Linked DNA regions of Homo sapiens: region 1 is linked to region 2. The links are contacts of gene promoters, found by promoter capture Hi-C in blood cells and fetal thymus (Javierre and others, 2016). All regions are on one chromosome and are shown on one strand. Each heading gives the region's core, a stretch centred on a gene start or on the middle of the fragment in contact. The rest is flanking DNA. Distances are from core to core; before and after follow the strand shown. Region 1 holds the start of NOPCHAP1 (NOP protein chaperone 1). Region 2 holds the start of EID3 (EP300 interacting inhibitor of differentiation 3).

Region 1 (7,032 bases), core at 3,259-5,758, 690 kb after region 2:
GTCAGAAATAAGCAGAAAAGATTGGTCCAAGGTTTCTGCTGCTTCTGCTTTGAATCCTATATAAGAGGGGTCTGGGCATACTGCAGGTGGTCAATAAAGACTGTTAAAAGAACAAACAGGAAAGGAAGCAATAGAGTGAAAAGGCAACCTACAGAATGGGAGAAAATATTTGTAAATCATATATCCGATAAAGGGTTAATATCCAGAATATATAAATAACTCCTACAACTCAACAACAAAAACACAAATAACCAGATTAAAAAATGGGTAAAGGAGTTGAATAGTCATTTCTCCAAAGAAGATATATAAATGGCCAACAAGCCCATGAAAAGGTGTTCAGCATCACTAAATCATTAGAGAAATGCAAACCAAAACTTCAAGATATCACTTCACACTCACTGGGATGCTCACTGTCAAAAAGAAAGAAGCAACCAAACAGAAAAAGGAAATATTGACAAGGATGTGGAGAAATTGGAACTCTTGTGCACTGTGGGAATGTAAAATGGTGCAGCCACTATGAAAAACTATACGGAGGCTTCACAAAAACCTAAAAAGTAGAATTACCCTATTATCCAGTAATCCCATGTCTGGGTATGTATCCCAAAGCATTGAAAAGCAGGGTCTCTAAGAGATATTTGTACCACCATGTTCATTGCAGCAGCGTTCACAATGACCACGAGGTGGAAGCAACCAGCACGCCTGTTGAGAGATCAATGGTAAGAAAATGTGGTATATACATACAATGGCATATTATTCAGGCTTAAAAAAGAAGAGAATCCTGTTATGTGCTACAACATGTCTAAACCTTGAGGGTATTATTTTAAGTGAAATTAGTAACAAAAAGGCAAGTACTGTATGATTCCACCTACATAATGTATCTGAAGTAGTCAAGCTCATAGTAACAGAAAGTAGAACGATGGTAGCTGGGCATGATGGCTCACGCCTGTAATCCCAGCACTTTGGGAGGCCAAGGTGGGTGGATCTCCCGAGGTCAGGAAATCAAGATCAGCCCGGCCAACATGGTGAAAACCCGTCTCTATACAAAAATACAAAAATTAGCCGGGCGTGGTAGTGTGCACCTGTAATCTTAGCTACTTGGGAGGCTGAGGCACCAGCCTGGGCGACAGAGCAAGGCTGTTTCAAAAAGAAAGAAACAAAGAAGAAAGTAGAATGGTGGTTACCAAGGGACTGGAGTAGGGGTAAATGGGTATAAGGTTTCAGTTTTGCAAGATGAAAATGATCTAGAGGTCTGCCACCACTGAATTGTACAACTAAAAATGGTTAAGATGGTAGATTTTGTTACGTGTTTTTTCACCAATTAAAAAAAAATTTAATAAAAAAGGATAAAGAGGAGGGAAGCCTAATGTTATGCTCTTTATGCCCGAATTTGGCGAAATCGAGCCTTGCCCGCTGTTTTTTCCTATGACAGTGTCTGAACCTTTCTTTTTCCCAGGAGTAGGAATGGCCCCTGCTCCCGCGCAGCCTCCAGGCTGCACCACGCTCGCCCCGCCTCTCTCTCCGCTCCTTACTCCGCCCACCGCAGTTTCCTCCAATCGCGGCCCTCTCCCCGCCCCCTTACCCGAGCCTTTTTCCTGCATCCGGGCCTGAGAGTGCAGGCTTGAGGGAAGCATGGAGGTCCATGGCAAGCCCAAGGCTAGCCCGAGTTGTTCGTCGCCCACCCGGGATTCCTCAGGAGTCCCAGTGTCCAAGGAGCTGCTGACGGCGGGAAGCGACGGCCGCGGAGGTGACGGACGGGTGACGGCGGCATGGGCCGCACACGTGCGGCAGAGGAGGCGCGGCCGGTGCAGTTTGGGAGCCGGCCGGTGGCTCCCTGCCCGGGCTCCGTACCCTCGAGGGGAGCCCCGGGGACTGCTGCGGGGCTCCGGCGTGCCCTGCCCGCGGCAGGGGTGGGGGCTTTGGGGCGGGCACCCGGCTGCGGGCCCGGAATGGTTTCCCCAGCTAGTGGTTCTTATATTCTGCAAGGTAGTGAGCGCCCACCCTGCCAGGCGCCGCTGCCAGGCATCTGCCCTGCCCTGGAAGCTGGGAAGCTCTCGAGTTCTTTTGGGGAAGGGAGGGCTTTTGGTTTGGCTGCCTGGGTCGGAGCAGTTGGCTGATAGGGGGAAGCGGAGTAATATTATGCTAACAGTCCCTACCTCTTTCACACCCACACAGACCACCCCTTAGTGCTGCTGTCTTGTAGAGGGAGACATGCATCCAGGAAATCCACACAGCATTTCAGACACTATAGGTAGAATTTAAAAGCACGAGTTCGAATCCCAGCTCCACTAGTAATTAACTGGTGGGACTTAGAGTTATTTTCATTCCCTAAGCCTCAGTTTTTGCATTTGGAAAATGGTGATAGTAGTAATGCCTGTAGAATTTTTGTGAGGAGGAGAATGCCTAAAAAGGCTTGGGCATGTTGTCAGTAAATACTAGCTTGAAGAAAAGGTTTTGTGAGAACCCAGAGATTCCGAAGGAAGTATAATAATGATAACCAAAGCTTATGTAGTCCTTACTATGTATGCCCCAGAAACTAACTCATCTAATCCTCACAACAACCCTTTGCAGAAAATCTGTTATCTCTGTTTTATAGTTGAGGAACCTGAGACATGATTTATCATACAGGTAATTTACCTTCTGGAGATCATGTGGCTAGAAAGTAGCAAAACTGGGACTTGAATTCAAGTAGTCTGGCTCCAGACTCTGTGCTCTGATCACGAATCCAGTAGGCCTTAAGTAGTAGGCATTCAATGGATGTTTGTTGCGGCTCTGCTTTGCAGGTGAACAGGATTTGTTTTTTAACCAGAGAGTTAAGGGATTTTCCGGGTATTAGAAATAGGGTGTGCAAAGCCTTGAGTTTTGTACGTTCCCCTCTTGGAACTCTGATGGGATAGAGAGTTGGGATGATTTGAGTAGTGAGAAATGAGGCTGGAAAGGTAGAGTGGGTGACAAAATCCCCAAAAGGCTGCTTTCCTTGGGTTGAACGTCTTCAGGGAAGGGGAAATACCAGGCAAGCATGTTTTACTAATGAAGAAACAAATGCTTGAAGATCAGGTAAGTTGCCCAGTGTTACACAACTAGTAACCATTTCTGGCTTCACTTAACCATTGTTATGCTCTGTACTGTTTCCTCCGTTCTGTCATTGCAGACCCACGTTTGTCTGCTAATGAATTTCTGATCCAGAAAAGTGCAGATTGGTGTGCATTTATTACCTGCCATTGGTGATAGAGGTGAATGAGACAGATGTAAGAAAGGAGAGGTGGCTGGCTGTACATAAAGAATTAAAATGTTGTAATGGAGCTTGGAGTTCTCCTTTAAAAAAAAAATTTTGGGGGAGTGTGGACAGTCAAGTCTTAAGACTGGTCATGTGAGAGGCTTACTGATGGGCCTTTGTTTTTTTATGCTGTAGTAAATTAAGGGTGTTTGTGTGTCTGTATTTTCAGGTATATGGGACAGGTTGCTCATCAACTCCCAACCTAAGTCCAGAAAGACCTCCACTCTTCAAACAGTTCGGATAGAGAGGAGTCCCTGTAAGTACCTCTTCCCCTCTCTCACCCTCTCTAATGCTGAGTTTTGTCTGATTAAGCTGTGGGACGGTCTCTGCCTTCATTGTCAGGTATCAAACCACAGATAGTCCAGTGGAACAAGTCCTACTTGGGATTTACATGATAAAGTCAGTACACAGAATGGAACTTCTTACATTATTTCTCTACTTTAAGAGGGTAACTTTTTCGTGAAAAATTGCTTGTGGGTTGAATTTTGGGAAGTCAAAAACAATTGTTAATCTCCATGGCAAATTTATTTAGAGGTTACTGAGCCTCAAACTTAATATATATGGATGGAAAACCACAACCACATCCCATTGAATTGGACACAATTATTTAAATGATAAATATTACTTAGAATACAGCATAATGGCCAGTTCTCTTTATTATTCTGTAGTATTGCTGTACTGCACATTCATAAGTATGTCCCACACTCAGACTTTATTACACGAATGCCCTCTATGTAATTCACTCTTAATATTAAAAAAAGGCAAAAATTCAATAAAAACAATGTAAATAAGCATGAAGGTAATGAAGGTATCACATCAATAAACTAAGAAATCATGAGTACTCTGAAAGGAGAATTTAACTGTAGCATCATTACTGTAGCACTAAATCTACAATAGCTGAAATGACCATATGGTGGCTGCCCATCCAAAAACCAGTTTTTGTGGATATAGGTTTTTGTTTTGAGGGATTACATACCTAGGAGTGGAATTGCGGGTATATAGAAGGTGTAATTTTTTTTTTTTTTTTACGAAGAAGAAATTGCTATTTTGCATTTCCACCAGCAAGGTATGAGAGTTTAGTTGCTGCACATCCTAACCAAAATGTGGTATGGCCTTTTTAATTTTAGCTGTTCTAGTGTGGATATAGTGGTATCGCGTTGTGATCTTAATTTGTTTCTAATGGCTAATAATGTTGAGCATCTTTTCATGTGTCACTATTTGTATGTCTTTGGTGAAGTGCCTATTCAAATCTTAAACACATTTAAAAAATCAGGTTTCTTATTGTAAACATCATTCTTGATAGTGCAGCTCTGCTGGAGATAGACTTACCAGCCTTTGTGTGTCTGAGAAAGTATTTTGCTTTCAGTTTTTGGAAGATGCTTTAATGGATTTAGAATTCTAGGTTGACAGTGTGGTTTTTTGCTTTTTCTGTTTTCTCCAGTACTTTAAAGACATCACTACACTTTCTTTTCAGTGGCATTGTTTCTGACGCCAGTGTCTACTGTCATTTTGTGTCATGAATATGGTGTTTCTTTTCTTCTCTGGCTGCCTTTAAGATTCCCTTCATTACTGGTTTTTACCGATTTTATGGTGATGTGCCCTTTGTAGTTTTCTTTGTGAGTCTTGAGCTTGGGTTTGTTGAACTTACTGGATCTATGGGTTTATAATTTTTATCAAATTTGGGAAATTTTTAGGGATGTTGTTGTTGCTTGCTCCTGTCTCGCCTCTCCTGAAGGGACTCCAATGACACCTAATTTTGCCAGTTGAGGTTGTCTCACAGCTCATTGATTGTTTGTTTGGGTCTTATGTTTTGTGTGTTTCAATTTGGATAGCTTCTATCGCTGATTTCGTTGAGTTCACTATTCTTCTATATTGTCTAATCTGTTAATTCTATCAAATGTATTTTTTCAAGGTAGATACAGTTTCCATCTCTAGAAGTTTGAGACTGTTTACATCTTTTTTTCTTTCCTTGTGTTTGTGCTTTTCTTTTCTTCCTTGAACATACAAAGTATATTTCTAAGAGCTGTTTTAACATTCTTATTGCTGATTCTGTCGTCTGCATCATTTCTGAATCTTTTTTCCCTACTCTTTATGGATTATGTTTTCCTGTTTATTTGCATGTTTGCTAATTTTTTATTAGATGTTGGACATTTTGAATATTATGGTGTTGTGTGTTGAGTATTATTTAATTTAGAAGAACCACGACTGGACTAGCCTCAGGGTTCAGCATATACTCTCCTAGAGTACCACGGAATTATTTGGCTTCTGAGGATCACAGTTCAGGCCGCACATTTTGGTACTTGTTTTGCTCTACTTGATTCATTAGTTGGAAACAAAAGCAGTACCAGATTTTCTATCTGTAGCAATATATTTAAATCTGAGGACAGAGAAATACCTTTATTTGTATTAGTAATTTCTCTTTCTGTAATCTGAAGGGGAATGAGAGCTAACATTCACTATTACGTCGGGCTTTATTTGTGTGCATGCTCTTAGGGAGTCCTTCCAGCACCTTATTTTACAAATAGAGGTCGTCTACTTGACCTTGGCCACTATTTTCTTTTCTTCTTCCATACGCTGGACATTTTAGTCATCTGTTATGTAGCCATAGCAGTTACATAAGTTTTGAGAGTCTGTTATATGCGTGGTTATGTGCTGGGCCTCTTTTGAGAGAGAAAATAAATATCCTTGTTTGTTGACTGCTCTGTATTTGGCACAGTGACTGACAGTTATCACTCCTCTTTTATGGATTAGTACGCTGAGGTTTCAAGAGGTAGAATTAAATGTATTAATTAGGATTCTTGGTTGCAAATGACTAAAATCCAGCTCAGATTGCCTTAAGCAAAAAAAGAAATTATGTTGGCTCTTTTTATTGGGGGAAAAATACTCCAGGCACAGTAGATTTCAGGTGCATCTGGATCCAGGTGCTCAGTGTCCTCAGAGGTCAGCCACTCTGTCTCTTAGTTCTGCTTTCCTGGGTATTGGCCTAATCTAGAGCGTACTCTTCCCCCAGGTGTGGAGAGTTGCCAGTTTATCAGCAGCTTCAGCCTTATATTCAGCCAACTCAGTCATTCACTCAGAAAGATTTCTCTCTCAACAGTTCCAACAAAAGGTCCTGAGTGATCTATTATTGGCCCGACTAGAGCAGCGTGTCACTGTGATGCCACTAAAGCATGGTACAGTGGCCAAGGATATGGAGGATGTAGGCATGTATGGGGTGAGGGGCAAGAGTGACTAAGAGTGACACAAGCTTAAAAGGAAAGCCAGGGTTATATTATCAGAAGAAAGGGAACGTATGTTGGGTAGGCAGAAATAACCACTACTTAATTAACTGGCCCAAGGTAATTCAGATAGAGGTAGAACTAGGATTCTGTACATACCTAGTTATTCGTACCCTAAAGCCTCAGAACCTGGTGCTCTTAACTGTTAAGTCACACTGCCTCCCTATTTAGTTACTATTTGTTGAATGCCAGCCTTCTAGGAGTTTACAGTCCTGGGGATATATGAGAAACATAAAACATTTGTGAAACAATTGCTGGATTGTGTAGTCCTACTGTTTTATTCAGAAGAGGATGGAGGGTTTTTAAATGAAGGGAACTAAAAGATATGTAATTATGGTTGTTATTATTAATACTCAATTCAGAAGTGTTTATAGGAAATCCTGGGTTTCAGAATTTACTAGCATAAATGTTGATATGCTGTATTTACTTTCCACAGTATTGGACCAGGTACAGACATTTCTCCCACAGATGGCACGGGCA
Region 2 (6,533 bases), core at 766-3,265:
ATTCTTAACTGTATTTTCACCTAAGATTTAAAACAAGTTCAAATACTAGTTTGTAATTGGCCAGACTAGGGACAGATACGATCCTTGAATGATCCTGGGTCTCAACTTACCTTTCTTTCATTTTTCCTTTATTTTAGAAGAGGGATAAGAACTTTTTCTGAAGAGCAGTCAACTTTTCCTTTCAGTGTGTAGGATTAATTCCACGAATCTGTGAACTTAAATCTTTGCTGCCAAATAACTTGCAGTAGATGCTGGGATAGTTTTAAATCTATTTTAAGTTATACATTCAGTACATAAGTGCATCTCCGTGTAAAAACAGCTATGTTTGGAAGATCTAAAACGCAGCTTTTGTTTTTGAGAAGCCAACAATCTAATAGGGTAGGATCATATATATGTACAACTAACCGTAATGCATGGTGTTTTGAAAAATGCACGTATCTCCCTGAATTACCCCTAGTTAATAAAATAATTGGGAGCAAATGGTAATATAAGGATTTTGGAGTAACTTAATACTACTAGATTTTGCTGTTTATACATTTACAAAAAACTTTCTGCTAATGCTAAAGAAATAGAACAAGTCTATATGCATAAAGGAAGGTAGGGCTAATTTACTTCCTGGTGCTATGAAACTGGCAATTGGACAGGTGCAATTGTGGGTGTCTTTTTTTTTTTAAGGTGTACCTGTTGCAGGTTTGAAAAGCTGTTGATGCTCATGGGTTGTTTGTGTGCATGTTCTCTTTAAAAACCAGATGTATTCATTCCCTTTTTTTTTTTTTTTTTTTTTGAGACGGAGTCTCGCTCTATAGCCCAGGCTGGAGTGCAGTGGCCCGATCTCGGCTCACTGCAAACTCCGCCTCCTGGGTTCACGCCATTCTTCTGCCTCAGCCTACCGAGTAGCTGGGACTATAGGCGCCTGCCACCGCGCCCGGCTAATTTTTTGTAGTTTTAGTAGAGACGGGGTTTCACCGGGTTAGCCAAGATGGTCTCGATCTCCTGACCTCGTGATCCGCCCGCCTCGGCCTCCCAAAGTGCTGGGATTGCAGGCGTGAGCCACCGCGCCCGGCCATTCCCATTGTTATGTATACTTTGCTATTTGCTGCTGGTGAGACAGATAAGGAGTCACGTCTTTAACTGCACTTGAGTTTCCAGTGACCCCATTAAATCCAATGGGTAAATTTTCCCACGCAGATTACTCACCCAGTTTACAGATTAAGCTTTCATATCCTTAGACTGTATCTGAAATTTTCATAGCTTTGCCCACCTTTTAGGGTTCAGAGTTACTACCCATTCAGTGTCGGTGGCCTTTAGCTGTTGGCAAGCTTCCAAGTAAATAGCTCTTTTGCAGAGATCTCTACCCATTCTATTCTTCCACTCCTGGGTAGTGGAGAACCAAAGTTCACCTGAGTAATGCCCGTGCCCAGCACCCAGTTTCCTGCAGGGGTTAGCACGGATATTGGAGGCTCCCCCGATCCCACAGATACTCAGGATGGGTATTGGAGGGGGCTTGGTTTTTAAGAGGACATGTGAAAGTAATTAACCCGATTTACATTTGTATAATGAGTCCAAACACCACCTTGCAAAAGAACTGAGAGTTTAGCCTGCTTAATGGAGTTTCTGCTTTTCACGGTCCTTGGCCTTACCGACGGTTTACAGTCCAGCCAGATTTAGTTCACAAAAAACCAAAACCAGGTCGACCTCACTGCAGTATATGATGGCAGCGAGCGTTTTAAAGCGCAGGACCTTTAGTCTCCTCAATAGTTTTGTGTAAAGTTGTCCAAAAGTGTTTTTTTTTAAAGTGAGGTGATCCAGTCGGTAAACGCTTTGAAAAAGAATAGCTGTCCCCTGAGCGGGCATTAGTCGCGTGTGAGGTCAGGGCCCATCATTGCGCGTGTTGGGAGCGCCGCGCTGGTCTATGAGCGAGCGCCTCGGCTTGTGGCTGGGCCGGGCCGGGGCGGGGCTGTCTTCCCGCGGAGCGTGCTGGGGGCGGGTCGCGCCGGGCCGGGCCGCTAGTGCGCATGGGCGGGCGTCCTCGGCTCTAACTGCCGCCACTTTCCACACGCTGGGAGGGCCGTTACCTCAGAGATACCCGTGGCCGGCATGTTGGTTGAAAAAGCTTCCCGGAAGGGAGACGAAGAGAAAGGAGAGGAGCAGCTCGTGATCATCCCCGGTAGCGAGTACGCGGCGAAGTAGGCGGCGGCGGAGGGAGCGCTGATGAAGATGGATGTGTCAGTGAGGGCCGCGGGCTGCTCCGACGACCTCAGCTCTGGGGAGGCCGACGTAGACCCAAAGCTCCTGGAGCTCACCGCTGACGAGGAGAAGTGCCGCAGCATCCGCAGGCAGTACCGGCAGCTCATGTACTGCGTGCGGCAGAACCGGGAGGACATCGTGAGCTCGGCGAACAACTCCTTAACCGAGGCTCTGGAGGAAGCCAACGTCCTCTTTGATGGCGTGAGCCGAACCAGAGAAGCAGCCCTCGACGCCCGGTTTCTTGTTATGGCTTCTGATTTGGGTAAAGAAAAGGCAAAGCAGTTAAACTCAGATATGAACTTCTTTAATCAGTTAGCATTTTGTGACTTTCTGTTTCTGTTCGTGGGTCTGAATTGGATGGAAGGCGATCCTGACAAGTTGAGTGATTGTGATGATAGCATAGCTCTTTCCTTCTGGAAGGCAATAGAAAAGGAAGCAACATCCTGGATGGTAAAAGCTGAGACATTCCATTTTGTTTTTGGTTCATTCAAGCTAGAACGTTCTGCACCAAAGCCCCGACTTGAACACCAGAAAAAAGTTCGCAAGATGGAAGAAAATGGCAACATGCCTACAAAGTTGCAGAAGTTGGACCTGAGTAGTTATCCAGAAGCGACAGAAAAAAACGTAGAAAGGATTTTGGGATTGTTGCAAACCTACTTTCGAAAGTATCCTGATACTCCTGTGTCCTATTTTGAGTTTGTGATTGATCCAAACTCTTTTTCTCGTACTGTGGAGAATATATTTTATGTTTCTTTTATTGTAAGAGATGGTTTTGCAAGAATAAGGCTTGATGAAGACAGGCTGCCAATATTAGAGCCGATGAATGTTAACCAAATGGGTGAGGGAAATGATTCCAGTTGCCATGGCAGGAAACAGGGAGTTATATCTTTGACTTTACAGGAGTGGAAAAACATTGTGGCAGCTTTTGAAATTTCTGAGGCTATGATTACATACTCCTCATACTAAAGATTTCTTAGTATAGCATCCTTTTTGTGTTTTTTTTCTGAAGTTAGATGGAGAGTAAAATGTAAACTGAAGCACATATTGTATCTCTTGTAAAGTGAAAAAGTATTTTCAAGAACATCAGACATTGTTTTACTGTGCAGCATATTTTTCTTAGTAATTTATAAGGTCATGATCTTCTGTTATTAAAACAAATTCACTGGCATATTTATGGGAACGTTTTATTGAATGCCCTTTAAGACTATTAATAAAAACAAGTTTTGGATACCAAATTAAGGGATATTTGATAATTTGCAAAACATAATAATTTACGAAAATCAGTGATGATGCTCTGTGATGCGTTGCTTTCTCTGTCATAGGGAACCAAGAGAATCCCAGAAAGGGTTCCTAACCAGGTTGGGCAAAGAGTGGGTAAAAAACAAAAGTTAAAAAAAAAAACCTGTCTGTAAGGCAGTGAATATGCAACATTAAGACTAAAAAAGTCATTGCAAGGAAGACTTAGGATTTATGAGTGAGTATCCATATTCTAAACAATTTCTGTTATTGTACTCAGCAAAAGTAGTGTCTCTGCTGTAGTAGTTGAGGTATCAGCTAAGGGTGAAAGGTGAGTAGAAACACGAAGAAGGAAAAGGCATTCTAGGCAAGAGAATAGCAAGGTCAAATGCATGGAATTGTTAGAAGTTAGGCACGAGAGGACCATTAGATTTATGGAAAAACTATTATATTTGATAAGCTGGGCAACAATTGAATAACTTCATCTATTAATATCCTGAGAAGATGTTTTTGTCAAACTATTATACATTGAACACAAGATCTTGCTATCCAGTTGTAGTTTTTATCTACTGAATTTCTTCTCTGGCCCCTAGTGTCCCTTTGTGGTCTTTGCTAGTACATAGAATGTCCTTCACAATCTACGCTTTTTCATCATGTAACAACTTTGAATATTTGTCCCACTTTAATTTTGCATTTCTATCTTTTTTTTTCCCCCTCGAGACAGAGTATCACTCTTGCCCAGGCTGGGGTGCAGTGGTGCAATCTCGGCCCACTGCAACCTCTGCCTGCGGGGTTCAGGCGATTCTTGTGCCTCAGCCTCCCAAGTAGCCGGGATTACAGGTGTGTGCCATCACACCCAGCAAATACTTGTATTTTTAGTAGGAACAGAGTTTCGCCATGGTAGCCAGGCTGGTCTCGAACACCTGGCCCCAAGTGATCCACCCGCCTCGGCCTCCGGAAATGCTGGGATTACAAGTGTGAGCCAAATTTTGCATTTCTTAATAGGGCTTTAAATGCCAGGAAACTGACCTTGCTGAAACTAAAACATGTTAGTTTATCTGGATGTTCTTCACTTAGTGTAAAGCCATAAAGGCTTTTTTCTTTCCGTTGCATAAATTACAACCTTATTTGGAGATTATTGCCAAAAGTTTGGGTCATTAAGAAAGTAACTTGAGAAGGTGCAGTAAGCATACCCATAAGCTTTCTTCCCCTTGATCCCTATAGGAGCTTAATTTTTGGTAGTCGTGGAATTTTGCCATTAAACAATACTTTGGCAAATGTTTAGGTATCTGTTATGCATAGCAGTGGCAAACTTTCCTAGTAAGTCTAGTGGTACAGGAAAGGGAAATCCAAAGACTCAACAAATGACACCAAGACTGAGAGGAAGGATTTTTCATGTATGGAGATGAGGTTCTTCACCAATAATAGAGTAGAGGTTTTAGCAAAAATAGAACTTTCTCATGAAACTTGGCAAATTATTTTCTAAATTAGTTACTCCTTTCACATATGAAAGAGCGCTGACCCTTGCTAGTGTCTAGTATCCTTTGATTTATAGTAGCAGTCATGGAAGCACCATTTGATCTCACTCATCCTCATTTCCAGCATGTCTCTACCAACCAAGTTCCTTGGGTTTTGCAGAGATCTGCTGTTGGAAGAAAAAGTACTCTTAATGACAGCAAAAAGATCCCGCCCCAGTACTTTACTGACATTCAGTTGCTCTGTTGAATGTCTCATGTCTTTACTAGGAGTATTTGACAGTGATGATTTAAAAGCATTAATAGAGAATCTGGAGGCTTAGGAGAGGTAATTTTTTTGGTCTTCTCTAAAGTTAATAGCTGTTAAAATATAAAGTTGACCACTTCTGTTTCTATTTTTACTGGTTGGCATGACACCAACCAGTAAAATGATGAGGATGATGGATTGCCTCATCATTTTTGAAATTTTGAAATTAAACTGACTGCTTACCTTGAAGAAAAAAGGAGATTAAAAATTTATAGAGGTTAAGAATCAAACTGCAAATCTGCTTGTTTCTTGCTAATACGTTTGTATACTGAATAGAAATAACATTATGCTAGTCTGTCTATATACTGGATCAAGATTTGTTAGGAAGAGGGCATTTCAAAATAGTGGAGATTGACGCAGGGAAGCTCAGCGGAGGACACCAGTGTAAATACATTCCAGCACTTCTTGACTTAGTTCCAGGCAATTTCCCTTCTTCAGGAGATGGAGAATTAGTAACTTAAAGGGATTAATTCCTACCAGCCACTATGCTAACATGCATTATCTTTCTTAAACTCAGCCATTTGATGAGGTCAGGAACCTGTTAGCTTCGTTAAGGATTAGGTGATTGGTCGAAGTCACCTGGCCTTGTGAGTGGTAGAGCAAGTATTTTAACGCAGGTTATTTCTGCATCAGAGCCATCTATAATGGTAGGGGAAATAAAAGTACAAATCTGGCAAAGGATAGAAACTATGTTTAGGGGAAAAGTCAGGATTGCTTATTCCAATTTTAAAAGACTGCCACAGTTGAATTGCTTTCTGTTTTGTGCCCTTTTTGGGGGAGCCTGGAGCAGTGTTTTACTAGGAGTGGGTCTGGGGAAAGGGATTACTATGACAGGCAGGTGGATGAAAAGGAAGGCTATCTAATGTGTAAGCCTTGCCAACAAGTGACAGTTGCCTGCAGGTCATCTCATATTCTATAGCATTGGTTCTCAAAGTGTATGAGGCCCTTTTGGCATACTTTAAGGTCAGAATTATTTTCATAATAGTAAGATGCTGTTTGCCCTTTTCTTTCTTTTTTTTTTTTTTGAGATGGAGTCTCACTCTGTAGCCCAGGCTGGAGTGCAGTGGCATGATCTTGGCTCACTGTGAGCTCCGCCTCCCGGGTTCACGCCATTCTCCTGCCTCAGCCTCTCGAGTAGCTGGGACTACAGGCGCCTGCCACCACGCCCAGCTAATTTTTTATATTTGTAGTAGAGACGGGGTTTCACCGTGTTAGCCAGGATGGTCTCGATCTCCAGACCTCATGATCCACCCGCCTTGGCCTCTCAA

What was found. The method cuts DNA at HindIII sites, captures the fragments that hold promoters and counts their contacts. A CHiCAGO score of 5 or more calls a contact.
Region 1: a contact is called between a fragment that was not itself captured here and the fragment with the promoter of EID3 in region 2, in 8 of 17 cell types (non-activated CD4 T cells, naive CD4 T cells, naive CD8 T cells and 5 more). The highest score is 7.5, in non-activated CD4 T cells.

Annotation. Positions count from the first base shown.
Region 1 is chr12:104,984,724-104,991,755 of GRCh38, forward strand. NOPCHAP1 (NOP protein chaperone 1) reads left to right here and starts at 1,593. Exons shown (of 4, transcript NM_152318.3): 1 at 1,593-1,744; 2 at 3,444-3,530; 3 at 6,989-7,032. The coding sequence starts at 1,630. It overlaps LOC105369952 (a long non-coding RNA gene), which reads right to left and starts at 1,647. Exons shown (of 2, transcript XR_007063436.1): 1 at 1,580-1,647. RefSeq lists enhancers at 1,247-1,759, 1,760-2,270 and a silencer at 1,823-2,072. The HindIII fragment of the contact is 4,021 bases long and covers 2,499-6,519 here.
Region 2 is chr12:104,301,724-104,308,256 of GRCh38, forward strand. EID3 (EP300 interacting inhibitor of differentiation 3) reads left to right here and starts at 2,016. Exons shown (of 1, transcript NM_001008394.3): 1 at 2,016-3,482. The coding sequence starts at 2,212. The coding sequence ends at 3,213. All of the region lies in intron 4 of TXNRD1 (thioredoxin reductase 1), which reads left to right. RefSeq lists enhancers at 1-152, 1,944-2,816, 2,124-2,363, 2,394-2,453 and a silencer at 1,854-2,083. The HindIII fragment of the contact is 794 bases long and covers 1,318-2,111 here.